4 separate regions of the Homo sapiens genome follow, and regions 2, 3 and 4 are each linked to region 1. Evidence: promoter capture Hi-C in human tissues and cell types (Jung and others, 2019). All regions are on one chromosome and are shown on one strand. Each heading gives the region's core, a stretch centred on a gene start or on the middle of the fragment in contact. The rest is flanking DNA. Distances are from core to core; before and after follow the strand shown. Region 1 holds the start of TSNARE1 (t-SNARE domain containing 1). Region 2 has its middle 170 kb from the start of MIR1302-7. Region 3 has its middle 42 kb from the start of MIR4472-1. Region 4 has its middle 110 kb from the start of MIR1302-7.

Evidence for each region. Contacts are between HindIII fragments. The study calls those that stand out against the background at their distance.
Region 2: a contact is called between a fragment that was not itself captured here and the fragment with the promoter of TSNARE1 in region 1, in 4 of the 25 tissues and cell types used here (IMR-90 fibroblasts, bladder, dorsolateral prefrontal cortex and 1 more).
Region 3: a contact is called between a fragment that was not itself captured here and the fragment with the promoter of TSNARE1 in region 1, in 4 of the 25 tissues and cell types used here (H1 embryonic stem cells, lymphoblastoid cells, mesendoderm cells and 1 more).
Region 4: a fragment that was not itself captured here is called in contact with the fragment with the promoter of TSNARE1 in region 1 in 4 of the 25 tissues and cell types used here (H1 embryonic stem cells, IMR-90 fibroblasts, dorsolateral prefrontal cortex and 1 more).

The regions. Positions count from the first base shown.
Region 1 is chr8:142,401,788-142,405,060 of GRCh38, forward strand. TSNARE1 (t-SNARE domain containing 1) reads right to left here and starts at 1,395. Exons shown (of 14, transcript NM_145003.5): 1 at 1,317-1,395. RefSeq lists silencers at 954-1,093, 1,234-1,803, 2,244-2,293 and an enhancer at 1,525-2,300. The HindIII fragment of the contact is 11,624 bases long and covers 1-3,273 here.
Region 2 is chr8:141,950,752-141,954,153 of GRCh38, forward strand. No RefSeq gene overlaps it. Among named protein-coding and RNA genes, the nearest start is that of MIR1302-7, 170 kb to the left of the region's middle. The HindIII fragment of the contact is 4,956 bases long and covers 1-3,402 here.
Region 3 is chr8:142,132,739-142,136,421 of GRCh38, forward strand. No RefSeq gene overlaps it. Among named protein-coding and RNA genes, the nearest start is that of MIR4472-1, 42 kb to the right of the region's middle. RefSeq lists an enhancer at 254-815. The HindIII fragment of the contact is 9,774 bases long and covers 1-3,683 here.
Region 4 is chr8:141,899,190-141,902,513 of GRCh38, forward strand. No RefSeq gene overlaps it. Among named protein-coding and RNA genes, the nearest start is that of MIR1302-7, 110 kb to the left of the region's middle. The HindIII fragment of the contact is 8,163 bases long and covers 1-3,324 here.

The DNA.
Region 1 (3,273 bases), core at 145-2,644:
CACGGCCTGTGCTGCTGTGTCCAAACATTTGTTCTACCAGATTTCTGCTGCGGTCCTGTGATGTATGGGGTCGAACGGTATGAAAGCAGCGGTTCAGTCGGGGGAAGCACTCCAGTACTAACAAACTTCAGCTTTCTTTCAACTCAATACTGTGTCCACACTGGGAGTATCCTAAGCAACAATCCCCACCCCTGTCTCACAGGCACTAAAGATAAAACAGAAAACAAGCAGATGAGTGACAATGACAAACAAGAAATACTGTAGGGAGAGCGGTCAGAAAGGTGAGCTCAGACATACCGGAAGCGGAGCTGCCCCCAAGCCAGGAGCGAGCCAGGAACTAAAAGAAGAGGCAAGTGTGCAGCAGAGGAAAGAAAGGGCGCCAGGTGTGGCTGGAAAGGCACCTGGCAGGATGAGGGGCGGAGAAGCACCGGCGGAGCAGCACGCGCGAGGCCCATTTTGAGCCGCACCACACCGCTCACAGAACTTCCTGTGATAAGCAGTGTTCCCTACCCGCGCTGCCCCACACAGCCGCCACCAGACACGTGTGGCTACTGAGTGTCGGACATGTGACCACTGGCACGGAGGACCTGAATCCTTCACGTTAAGGACAATGTAAACAGCCACACATGCCTAGGGGCTACCACACTGGACATGGCAGAGCTTCCAGAGCAGGAGGAGTGCGCCATGAGGCAACAAACACGAGGTCCCTGGAGAGTTTCTGCGGGGGCAGCACAGATCAACATCACCTGAAAGTCCCTGGTGGGGATGTCGCAGGCCCCAGTACCCAGGAAGCACCTTCTTACAACTTGGAGAAGGGACAGAAAGGCATGGAGAGGCAAGCACACAGGAACGGGGTCCCCAGCTCAGGCTCGAAGGCGGGCTCCGCTCGTTGAGCTGCAGGGCACCAACCCTTGCACCCAGCAAGTAGGCGCTGGGGCGCTCCCCGGGACGGCACTGACCTCCAGGCGCAGGCACCGGCTGCCCGGCCCAGAGCCCACCGACCTGGGGTCTGAACAGCGCGCGAGGACCCGCCGAGGGGCTCATGTGCCCGCGGGCCGGTCCCCGAAATGCGGCGCTCTCGCGGGGCTGCGGCTCAGGGTCCCTGGCGCCCCTGGGGTCCACCCCCGGCACGGTCCCGCCCCCTCCCCTCCCCACCGGCGCGGCCCCGCCCCCCGCCCGGCCTCCCGCAAGCCCCATACCACGCCACGCCGCGGCCCCCGCCGGGCTCCGGGCCCCGCGCTGGTCCCCGGCCGCCTCGCCCTCGCCGCCCCACGCCCGGCCCCGGCCAGGCCCCAGCCCCACCGCCGCCGCCTCACCTGGGCCTCGGTGGCTCGCGGACCGCTCCGGGCGCTCACGGCGGGCGAGGCGGGCGGGGCGGGCACCCAAACATCACGTGACGGCCCCTCCCGCCGCCGGCGTGCGCGCCCCCTCCCGCACCAGCCAATGGCCGCCGGTCCCGGACGCGCGCGGGGACTACCCGCCCCAGAGGCCCCGGCGCGGAGCCGGAAGCGGCGCGGACGGCGGTCGGCTGGGCCAAGAGGCCTCTGCGGGTGCGCGCGCGAGTCGGCTGTCCTCACTTGCCTGGTGGTGGGCCTCCGTTTCCCCGTTTCCCCGTTTTGCATATGGGGATGACGGCGAAGGTGGAGGTCACGTGGAGGGCGGCGGCCCGGCGCTGAGGCGCTTCGGGAGCGGGCTCCGCCCAGCCCAGGCCGAGCCCGGACCTCACACGGGCCAAAGCTGGAGCTTCTGCGGGGCTGCGCAGGCGGCGGGTCTCGGCCAGGGCAGGGCCGGGCACCTGCGCGTCTCGCGCTGCGGGGACGGGCGTTGGGCCCCAAGTCAGGCTGCACGGGCTCCGCGTGGGGCCGTGCTCGGCCGGGGGCTGGCAGGCCCCGCGGGGACTCCGGACTCCCAGTGTCACCAACGAGGAAACTGAGTCTCAAGACATCTGAGGGACCTTTGCCCGAGGTCGCAGCCCCTCCCTGGAGGAGCTGAAGTGCAGAGTAGGGAGCCCCTTGCGGAGACCCTCCTGGGACCTCCTTCCGCAGGGGCCTGGGGCGCCTCCCTTTCCCTGCTCTGCCTGCGGGCACTGAGCTCCCGAAAGACTCCAGCCCCTCGCTCTCCCGGTGACCTGCTGGAGAAGACACCTGGGAGGAACCTGCGGACAATGGGTGTGTGTCCTTGGGCCGCCAGGGTCACCTTTCAGCCTGTTTCCCCAGAGGTGAACCAAGAGTCACACCCAAGGCAGGAGAGCAAGAGTGATGAGTCCGCTGCACCTTCTCCGGCAAGCGGAGGTTCTCCCGCCGCCCTCACTCTGTGATGCTTGCTGTGCTTGCGAGGCCTACGCCAAAGCCCTGCGGGCAGCCCTGGGCTCCCGCGGACAGCCTTGCTGAGCTCCTGGGAAGGAGGCGTGCCCTCCCCTTCCCCCACCGCCCCGCTGGCTGGGGTTCTCTGCAGCCCAGGACTGTGCATGTGTGCGCACACGGGTTCTGTGAACACGAACACAAAAGTGTGCTCGTGGACACTGCGTGGTACTGTGTGCACACAGCGCACGTCTGTGAGCTGAGGGAGTGTTCCTGGACACCAGGTGCAAGTGCACAAGTGTGTGTATGCTGGCACAAGTGTGTGCCCAGGCGCAAACATGGGAACGGTAGTATATGGCACAAATGTGTGCACACATGGGTGGGAGGGAAGAGGGGCACATGCCCACCAGCATTCCTGGGCTGGTGCTCAGGCCGGCCTGTCCTGGGCCCACCCACGCTCCTTGCCTTGGTGTATTTCAGTCTCCCCTGGGCTCCCAGGAGGCAGTAGTGTGTGCCTGTCTTGCAGCCTCGCCATGATTTGGACAGGGCTTCACTCTTCGGCTAGGACAGCTAGAGTGCAGGGAAGCCGGCTCCTAACCAGGGAGGATGCCCATGACTGCTGACCCCCCAGCTTCCACTTGAAGGGGAAGGTTCGCCAGGACCAATGCCTGTCTGAGAGCTGTCAGTCTGGACTGAGGATGCCGGGTGCCTGGCACGGTGCCCACCTCCCCTTCCGTGGCTGGCGCTGTCTGTCTGGCCGCCACCTCACTCAGCCTCCTCTGACAGCTCCGTGTTCAGGTGTGCAAAGGAGGGGAAAGTGAAGCCCTTTCCTCCCAGGGCAGACCACCTCCAGGAGCCGCTTTCTTGACCATACAAGGCGTATATGGGGCTGTTTCTGTGCCTGGACACTGCAGGGGGAATGGTCTAGCGTGGGTAGGAACCACCAGAGGAGGGGCTCCGTACCTGTTGGCTC
Region 2 (3,402 bases), core at 528-3,027, 450 kb before region 1:
AACTATCTGCAATGTAAGCAGGGTAATTGGGAAGGGCAATGAGAAGAACGAAGAGGGCAAATATGTGGATAATAATGAAAAACAGTAGGATTCACACATATGCGAAAGAAGAATGCATGAGAACATCACAGCTTTGCCAAATGGGAAGGGGCTTACATTGGACGAACCTTCCCACCAGAAATCATCACAGGAGAACCCCATTTGATTGCACTTGCCAGATACTACGATTTTCAAAGCTGGAAGGTTTGTGGCAACCCTGCGCTGAGCAAGTCTGTGCCATTTTCCCAAGAGCATGGGTTCGCTTCAGGTCTCTGTGTTATTTCTGTAATTCTTAGGTTTTGGTAATTCTTGCAATATTTCGAACATTTAAATTATGCCTTTTATGGTGATCTGTGAACAGTGATCTTTGATGTTACTATTGCAATTGTTTAGGGGCACCATGAATTGTGCCCATGAAAGACTATGACCTTGACCAATAAATGTTGTGTGTCTCCTGACTGCTCTCCTAGTCGTCTCCCCATCTCTCTCCCTCTCCTAGGGCCTCTGTGTTCCCTCAGACACAACAATATTGAAATTAGACTAATTAATAACCTTGCCATGGCCTCATGTTCAGATGAAAGGAAGAGTCACACTTCTCTCACTTCCAATCAAAAGCTAGAAATGCTTCAGCTTAGTGAGAAAGCAGGTTGAAAGCTGAGATAGGCCAAAAGCTGCACTTCTTGGGCCAAACAGCCACGTTGTGAATGTAAAGAAAAACCTCTTGAAGGAAATTAAAGGTGCGGCTCCAGAAAACACGCAAATGATAAGAAAGTGAAACAGCCTTCTTTCTGAGATGGTGGAAGTTTGAGTGGTCTGGACAGAAGATCAAACCAGCCACAACATTCCCTTAAGCCAAAACCTAGTCCAGAGCAAGGCCCTAGCTCTCTTCAATTCTGTGAAAGCTGAGAGAGGTTAGGAAGCTGCAGAAGAGAAGCCTGAAGCTAGCAGACGTTGATTCATGAGGTTTAAGGAAAGAGGCTGACTCTGTAACACAAAAGTGCAAGACGAAGCAGCAAGCGCTTGTGGAGAGGCTGCAGTAAGACGTCCGTTAGACCTAGCTAAGATCATTGAGGAAGGTGGCTACAATAAACATGAAGGTGGCTACAATAAACAACATATTTTCAGAGTAGATGTAACAGCCTTCTACTAGAAGAAGATGCCATCTAGGACTTTCACAGCTAGAGGGGAGAAGTCAATGCCTGGCTTCAAAGCTTCAGAGGACAGGCTGACTCCCTTGTGAGGGGCTAATGCAGCTGGTGACTTTAAACTGAAGCCAATGCTCATTTCCCATTATGCAAATCCTAGGGCCCTTAAGAATGATGCTAAATCCACTCTGCCTGTGCTCTAGACATGGAACAACAAGGCTGAATGACAACATTTGAATGACAAACCTGTTTACAGCATGGTTTACTGAATATTTTAAGCCTAATGTTAAGACTTATTGCCCAGAAAAAAAAAAAAAAGAAGAAAAGATTACTTTCCAAATACTAATGTGACAGTTCACCTGGTCACTCAAGAGCTCTGATGGAGGCCGGGCATGGTGGCTCATGCCTGTAATCCCAGAACTTTGGGAGGCCCAGGTAGGTGGATCACCTGAGGTCAGGAGTTCAAGACCAGCCTGACCAACTTGGTGAAACCCGACCTCTACTAAAAATACAAAAATCAGCCAGGCATGGTGGCACATGCCTGTAATTAATTCTAGCTACTCGGGAGGCTGAGGCACAAGAATTGCTTGAACCTGGGAGGCAGAGGTTGCAGTGAGATAAGATCATGCCACTGCACTCCAGCCTGGGAGACAGAGTGAGACTCTGTCCAAAAAAAAAAAAAAAAAAAGGTCTGATGGAGATGTACGAGGAGATGAACGTTGTTTTGCTATTTTTATGCTTGTTAGGACAACATCCCTTCTACAGCCCTGGATCAAGGAGTCATCTCAACTTTCTTCTTATTTAACAAATACATTTTGTAATACTACAGATGCCACAGATAGATTTCTGTCATGAAGAACATTTGTCATTCATGGAAGGAGGCCAAGATGTCAATATTAATAGTTTGGAAGAAGTTGATTCCAACCCTTTGAGGGATTTCAGACTTCAGTGGAGGAAGGAACTGTAGATATGGTGGAAATAGCAAGAAAACTAGAATTAGAAGTGGAGTCTGAAGATGTGACTGAATTCCTGCAATCTCATGATCAAATCTGAACAGATGACGAGCTGCTTCTTATGGATGAGCAAAGAAAGTGGTTTCCTGAGATGGAATCTACCCCTGGTGAAGATGCTGTGGACATTGTTGAAATCACAACAAAGGATTTATAATATTCCATACGCTTTGTTGAGAAAGCAGTGGCTGGGTTTGAGAAGGTTGGCTCCAATTTTGAAAGAAGTTCTACCATGGGTCAATTGCTACCTCATGCTACTGGGAAAGCTTTTGTGAAAGAAAGAGTTGATTGATGCAGCCAGCTTTACTATTGTCTTATTTTAAGAAACTGACACAGCCACTTCAGTGTTCAGCAACCTCCACCCTGATCCATCAGCAGCCAACATCACCCAGGCAAGATCCTCCACCAGCAAAAATATGATGACTCCCTGAAGGCTCAGAGGATCATCAGCATTTTTAGCAATCAAGTATTTTTAAATTAAAGTATGTACATTTTTAGACATAATGCTATTGCACGCTTAGTAGACTCAAGGATGGTCTAAATATAACTTTTATATGTACAGAGAAACCAAAAAAACTGTGACTCATTTTATTGTGATATTTACTGTATTGTGGTGGTCTGGAACCAAACCTGCAACATGTCCAATCTCTGCATGTATAAGCTCTGGGTAAGACATCAAAATAACTGTTGGGAGGCACTGGAGAGTGACTAAACAGGCAGAATCTGGAGGAGAGACACAGCTCCTGAGATAAGGGGTTTAATCTGGGTAAGTTTTATGTGCATCTGGCTATTCTCCTGAGGGAATTTCCCGTCTGCAGGGCCCAAGAAGATTAGAGGACAAGAAAGCAGCAGTCTCACCGGGCTGGGGAATCAGGAATCCATGTTTAGGACTTCCAGCGGGGCTGGAAATTGAAGAAGAAAATGCTGGATTGAGGAAGTTGCATAGGATGATTCCCTGAATCTGTACACTTCCCTCAAATTCTTGGCTCACTCTGCCGTGCACAGGCACATACACATGCACACGCACATGCAAATGCACATACATATACACATGCACACTCACATGCACACTCCTCGCATGCACACTCCTCACATGCACACTCACATGCACATGTACAACACATACATATACACATGTACATGCAGATACACATGCACATGCAGATACACATACACACAAACATGCACAAATGGACATAAACATACAC
Region 3 (3,683 bases), core at 930-3,429, 270 kb before region 1:
AGACTACCCCAATTTGGCCAATCAATGGCATGGTGGCTCTAGAGATAGGAAGCGCAGGCTTAACCGTCCGCTGCATGAAGACAGAGCTTCCTGCCTGTTTCCCACATGGATGAGTCCCGAGTGCCTGGGGCAGTGCCTGATGCTGGGCAGAGGCTTGGTGACAGGCAGGTTGAGTAGGGGGCAGGGCACTGCCCGGCTGGGGAAGCGAAAGCCACCGCTCCAAGGAATTGCTTCGTCTCCCCGGGCCTCAGCTCTGTCATCTGTGAAATGCGGACTGGCAGCGTCCACCAGGCCTGGCAGCCTGAGGCTCAAGGTGTGGATTCGGTGAGTTCATGTCTGTGAAGCTCCCAGGACACGCTGCACGCAGCCGTGAGGAATGTCAGCCTGACCGAATCCACGGGACTCTCGGCTCCTGGAGTCAGGACAGACCCTGCATCACCCTGGCTCCTCTGGGTTCCCGTGTGGTGCCCCGAGGTCGGGCTTAGCACAGAATGGCTGAGGGGCCCAGGCGTGGTGCAGAGCTGCGGAGAGAGCTGCCCCACAGATGGCCGGAGAACCAGGCAGCATCCTCTGAAAGACAGCGCTCCAGCTGAGGCTCAGAAAAGACAGACGGATACAGGAGACGCCAGAGAAGTGAATGGAGTTTGCAGAAATGTCTGCGGCTGCAGCTTGGAGGGCACAGCCAGTCCGGCAGGACAGTCTGAGGAGCACCCCGGGTGGGGGTGGGGACAGCTGGAGAGCCGGGGCTCAGGTGGGGCCAGGGCAGTAAATAGTGGGTGGTGTTGGTCCCCATTTTATGGATGAGAGAGCTGAGGCTTGGCAAGCCTAAGCAGTTCCTTTGAAGGCTCGGGAAGGGCCTTGAGCCGGGAAGAAAGCTCTGGCCTTATTCTGTGAGTCCAGGGGAGCCATAGAAGGTTCTTGAGCAGGGGAGTGGCTTTGGCAGCTACCTACTTAGAACAGTCCCTGCAGGGGCCTCAGAGACTCACTCCAGACCTCCCTCTCTAGAAACGGGAAACGTCTACCCTTTGCAGGTGGCGGTGCTCTGTTCTGGACCACACATGTGGACTTCTGTAGCACACGGCGCTCTTCCAGACACTCAGACCAAAACAGGTGACATCCCACAGAGGGTCAGATGGTGCAGGACACACAGCATGTGGGGAAATCACCTCATATGTCAGAGGGGACACCTGGTGTGGAAAAAACAGCCAGGGAGCTGCCCAGAGGGCTGGGGGGCTGGGGAGGGCTGGGGGGCTGGGGAGGGCTGGGGTACATTTGAGGATTGGAGGTGGAGAAGGCACTGGCCACGTGAGCTGGGGAAGAAAATGCAGGGGCCATGGCTGAGTAGACTCCGTATGGTTAAGGCCCATATGGAGGGACCCAGGGGTCAACAGTGGGGGCCAAGTTCGGGGTCATGGGAAGGGGCTGTGAGCCAGGGAGCCAGGGAAGGTGGCCCTCATGGCAAGGGTGGAGCAGGAGAGCCCTGGCCTGATGCTTGGCTGGAGCACGCTGGCTGCTGGGGACAGGTGATGGCCAAGGAGCCCAGACAGAAGCTGCTGCCACAGTCCAGGAGAGGTATGCTGGGGACTCAGCCTGGGGGGACAGAGGCCTGGGAGGAAGTGGTCAGACTGGACATATCTGAAGGCGGGATGGCGTGGGGCGTGGCTTCCAGCCGCGAGTATTCTAAGCTTTCTCACCCTGGGTGCCCCCTCTGCTCACCTGCTGTGTCAGAGCCGTGGTGCAGGCTAAGAGACCCAAGGCCACCAGGACCCGCGTGCACGGGCCATTTGGCTCTGCACAGAACCGGTCTGAGCCGTGGACCTGGAATTCTCTAACCCCAAGGGACTGCAGCTTTCCCATGTCAGTTCAGCCACCTGTGACGTCTTGCTTTGGTGACAGTGTCTCTCTTTAGCAGGAAAATAAACCTTTAGTTCCGATCTGTCATCATCCATTTGTGGGTGACATCACAGAAGTTATTTATCATTATTAGAATTGGGGACCTCCAGGTGTGGCTGTTCCTAGATGGGGCATTCCCCCTCCTCCCAGCTCTGGGGCTCGATTTCCATCTGAAGCCCCGACTCCACAACCAGGCAGCTGGGGTCTCACCCTTAACACTGAGGGAAGAGCGTTCCACAGAGGGAACAGCCAGCGCAGGAACCCCGAGGCCGGGCCTCTGAGGAGCTGGAGGAGGCCCCATGTAGCGGGCTCTGCTGGGAGGCCCCAGAATGACTAGGCAAGAGCTTGTGCATTCACCAGAATTAACCCTTTCTGGCCAAAGTGAGCCAGAAATCACAGGTCCCCAAGCGCTTTCAATGCAGATAGCAGATCAGGGCTCAGCATGGCCAAGGCTCCAGGTTTCTGGATCCTTAAAAACAAATGGATGACAGCTCTGTGTAATTAACCATATCTGATAATTAGAGCTTGAACTGTGCAGGCAGCACAGACTGTGGACTCTTCCAAAGTAGCAGCAGACACAGACACGCACACACCACACACACACACTCTAGCAGTAGACACAGACACGCACACACCACACACACACACTCCAGCAGCAGACACACACACACACACACACACATGCACACATTACACGCACACACCCATGAACCCTGGGCGCTCTCAGCAAGGCGACCTCAGGGGCACTGGAAGCCCTGGAGGAAAGGGACGGCACCTTCCTGACATCAGGGAGAAGCAACAGCCCATGCGCAAAGGCTGCAAGAGAGAGACAGAGAGAAAGAGACAGAGAGAGGAGAGAAAGACAAGGCTACTGGGCAGCCCCCACCCCTGCACAGGGCTGGCCGGCCTCCCGTGGCCCGACCTCCTGAAGGACAGTGCCTCCTCTCGGTCATCAGAACCTGCTTCCCCTGGGTCCTGGCCCTCCTGTGGCCTCTTCTCCCCTTTGCTGTCCCAGCAGCACTGCTGTACTCCCCAAACCTACAGCAGCCTTCACCTGGGGCCCTCTGGGGCTGGCCCGCTGACCAGAGCCCCACTCCCACTCAGGCCTGGGGTGCCGGCCCTCCTGCCCCTCCCTGAGACGCCCTTGCTGCCTGGCCAGAGAGGCCTTTGGCGCCCATGGCAGATCCTGGGCTTGGTCCAGCACCACCCCGGTACGGGACACGGCCACCTCTGCCTTGCCCTCCCATGGCCCCGTGAGCACTACCCGCCCTGGACTGTATGTCAATGACGAGGTCCCAGGCCCGGGACTTGGCCAGCCACAGCCCCCACGTCACAGATGTTTTCACACCTAGGCCCTGTTCCCTCCTTGTCCTGAATGAACACAAGGGCCTCCTGCCCCAGGGCCTTGGCATGTGCTGCCCTGGCTTCCTGGAGCCCTTCTCCCCAGACCTCTGCACGGCTCACTTCCTGTCACTCAGCGCTCAGCCCAGGTGCCCTCCGCAGAAAGCCGTGTCCCGCTCGCTACCCATCTGAGGAGGGCCCCGCCCCGCTGGCGCTTTCCACCTGTGGCCTTGCCCGACTGTCCTCAGCACTCCATCCACCCAGCCGCTCCTCCGGAACCTAAGCTCCGAAGCCAGGCCGTGCTCTCTTCCCAGCGCCGCTTCCGCATCTCCCACTTGAAGAGCAGGGAAGCACTCGTCGCATCTCGCCAGGGCCACGACGATTTGCTCACCGTGAAAGGACTGATTGACTGTGTGAATAACTGAACACGTGAGTGGATACATCACCAG
Region 4 (3,324 bases), core at 553-3,052, 500 kb before region 1:
GGAAAGCCCAAGTTCCAGGGTTGCTCAGAAGAGCAAGGAGCAAGGACATCCTTCTAGAGCCTTCCTGATAAGGAAGGCTCACCCCCAGGACACAGGATTTGAGCTGTGCTGCCTGGGAATGGGGACTCTCCAGGGATCAAGCTTGGGGGCAAGGTCCAATGCACCTAGTGTGTAGCAGAGAGAGCCTCTCGTTCCTCCTCTTTGATGTGGGCAAACCCGAGTGAACTCTGCCGGGTCATACTTCATTAAATGTCTTCAGTCTATGACCTCTATCTCTCTACCCTCCCGGGCCGGGACCCCCTGCGGCCACCTTCCCCTGCCCTGGGTGGCTCAGGGTGCAGCCCAGCCTCACCTGCTGGCATCCTGGGCAGGTCTGGACAGCCACCCTCCACAGCACTGTGCTCTTTCTCTGACTCCTTCTTAGTGTCTCCACCCTGAGCCTCCATCCCATTGCCTGAGCCTCCTGCACACAACCCTTGTGAATTGAACTTGGTTCCCTGCCAGCCCCTCCAACCACCTGGCCTTGTCTCCCAGACAGCAGCAGCTAGTGATCGGGCCAGCTGCTGTCCATCAAGGAAGCCAGGCCCAAAGAAAGAGCTAAAGCACATCGCCAGGGCCCCGTCCCAGCTCTGGAACTTGCTGGAAATGAGAGAAGCCAAGGTGATATTGTCCAGCGAAGGCACCATGGATCCTCCAGGAGCGGGGGGCCCATGCGTTTCCACAGGCGTTGGGGGATGAACCCGGTGCATACTGAAGCTCGCACTGCATCCCTGCAGCAGAGGCTGTGCCCGCCCTGCGGCTGGGTCCTGAGCCTTCCTGGGGGGATGTCAGTGCCATCCTCTTGAAGGGAAACTGTGAGCAGGATGAGAGGCCGGAGAAGCAACTGACGGCTCCCTGCAGAGACCCATCAATTGTCCCAGTATGATTTCTTAATCATCTGGCAAGTAATTAGCCGGTATCCTCATTAGCACGCAGGAGATTTGTAAAAGTTTCGGGGAGGAGGCGGCTGCACTGAGCGAGTTTTAATTACAGACGAACCGACCGGGGACAGGCGCCTTGGCAGTTGTGCCGCCTGTTTACGTTTCACCAGTTCTTGGAAATGAAAAGCAAAACGCTTGTCACTCATCTTTGTGATCATCCCGAGAGACAGAAAAGGACAAGGGGAACGAAAAGTGTGGGGTGGCCGGTGTTGCCCCTGGATGAGACCTTGAGCGGTAACGGGGTATGGATCTTGGGGGACGGGGTCTCAGTCCATCCGACTGCTCTAGCCATGTGCCACGGACTGGGTGGGATCCAAAAACCCGGCCTGCATTCCCACGGCTCTGCAGCCCGGACGCCCAAGACCAGGGCGGGTTCCGTGTCTGGGGAGGGCTGATGTTCCCGGTTCACAGACGGCGCCTTCAGGCTGTGTCCTCATATGAGGGGAGGGGGAGGGAAGCTCTGGCCTCCTCTAAGGACACTCAGCCCACTGACAAGGGCTCCGTCCCCAGGACCTCAGGCCCTTTCTCCTAACACCATCACACGGGGCTACAAGGTTTGCACGCTCACTCCCGCAACTGTGTGCTCGCATGCCTTTGTGTGTCTGTGTGAGTGTGTGGAGAGCATACATGTGACAGTGTGTCTATGTGTGAGTGTGTGGGAGAGTGTGTGGTGTGTGACAGAATGTGTGTGTGTGACTGTGTGAGTGTGTGTGTGGGAGAATGTGTGGTGTGATGTGTGTGTCAGTGTGTGAGAGTATGTTTTGTGTGTGCATGAGCATGTTGCTGTGTATGTGTAAGTGTGTGGGAGACAGTGTGTTTGTGTGTGCGTGTGAGACAGCGTGTCATAAATGTATGTGAGCATGTTGGTGTGTGTGAGTGTGTGGGAGACAGTGTGTTTTGTGTAAGTGTGTAGGAGATAGTGTGTGTGTGATTTGAACTTGGTGTGAGTGTGTGTGGGAGACTGTGTTGTGGGCATGTTGGTGTGTGTGTGTGTGGAAGACTGTGTTTTGAGCATGTTGGTGTGAGTGTGTGGGAGACAGTGTGTTGTGTGTGAGTGTGTGTGGGAGACAGTGTGTCGTGAATGTATGTGAGCATGTTGGTGTGCATTTGTGTAAGTATGTGTGAGACAGTGTGTTGTGTGTATGAGACAGTGTGGTGTGTGTGTGAGAGTGTGTTTTGTGTGAGTGTGTGTGGGAGACAGTGTATTGTGAATGTATGTGAGCATGGTGTGTGTTTGTGTGAGTATGTGTGAGACAGTGTGTTGTGTGTATGAGACAGTGTGGTGTGTGTGTGTGAGACTGTTTTGTGTGAGTGTGTGTGGCAGACAGTGTGCTGTGCATGTATGTGAGCATGTTGGTGTGTGTGAGTGTGTGGGAGACAGTGTGGTGTCTGTGAGTGTGTGTGGTGTGTGGGAGACAGTGTGTTGTGAGCATGTTGGTATCTATGATGGTTAATACTAAGTGTAAACTTGATTGGATTGAAGGATGCGAAGTATTGTTGCTGGGTGTGTCTGTGAGGGTGTCGCCAAAGGAGTGGTTTGCCAGGGGCTCTGGGGCCTTCGGCCACAGACTGAAGTGCACCGTCTCCTTCCCTGCTTTTGAGGTTCCCTTTATATACATCTATCCTATTAGTTCTGTCCCTCTAGAGAACCCTAACACAGTATGTGTACATGTGAATGCGTGTGTGAGAGAGTGTGTGGTGTGTACGTGTGAAGAATGTGTCAGCATGTGAGTGTCAGCATGGGTGAGTGAGTGTGTGTGGGGTGTTTCAGGATGAGAGAGTGCATGTGTGGCTATGTGTGTGACAGCATGTTTTGTGTGTGTGTGAGCATGTTGGTGTATGTGTATGTGTGAGTGTGTGGTGTGTGTGTCAGCAAGGGAGAGTGTGTGTGAGACTGTGTGTGTGAGAGCATGTTTTGTGTGTGTGGGTGAGCATGTTGATGTGTGTATCTCTGTGAGTGTGCAATGTGTGAGTGCGAGTGTGTCAGCATGTGAGTGTATGGGTGTGTGCCTGCTCGTGTCTCCTGATGTGCTCAGTGTGGAGAAGCAGCATCCCCTTCCATCTGTAGGGCAGCTGGGAAGGGCCTACAGTATGGCCTAGTTGTTCACGACGCATGTATAGTATGAAAGGCCACACATATCCTGCAGTTGAGGAACTGAAGTTTTTCTTGGCCTATCATTTCTCAAGCATCACTGTTAAACTTGATTTTTTTTGCAACAACAGAAATCCCACCAGGCTTGAGTGCCGGGAACAGCCCAGAAACCCCACAGTTGTTATAAACCTGCTATGCGCCAGGCACTGCCCATCTAGCATTGTATCCACCCCTAGCCAAACCCTGAACGGG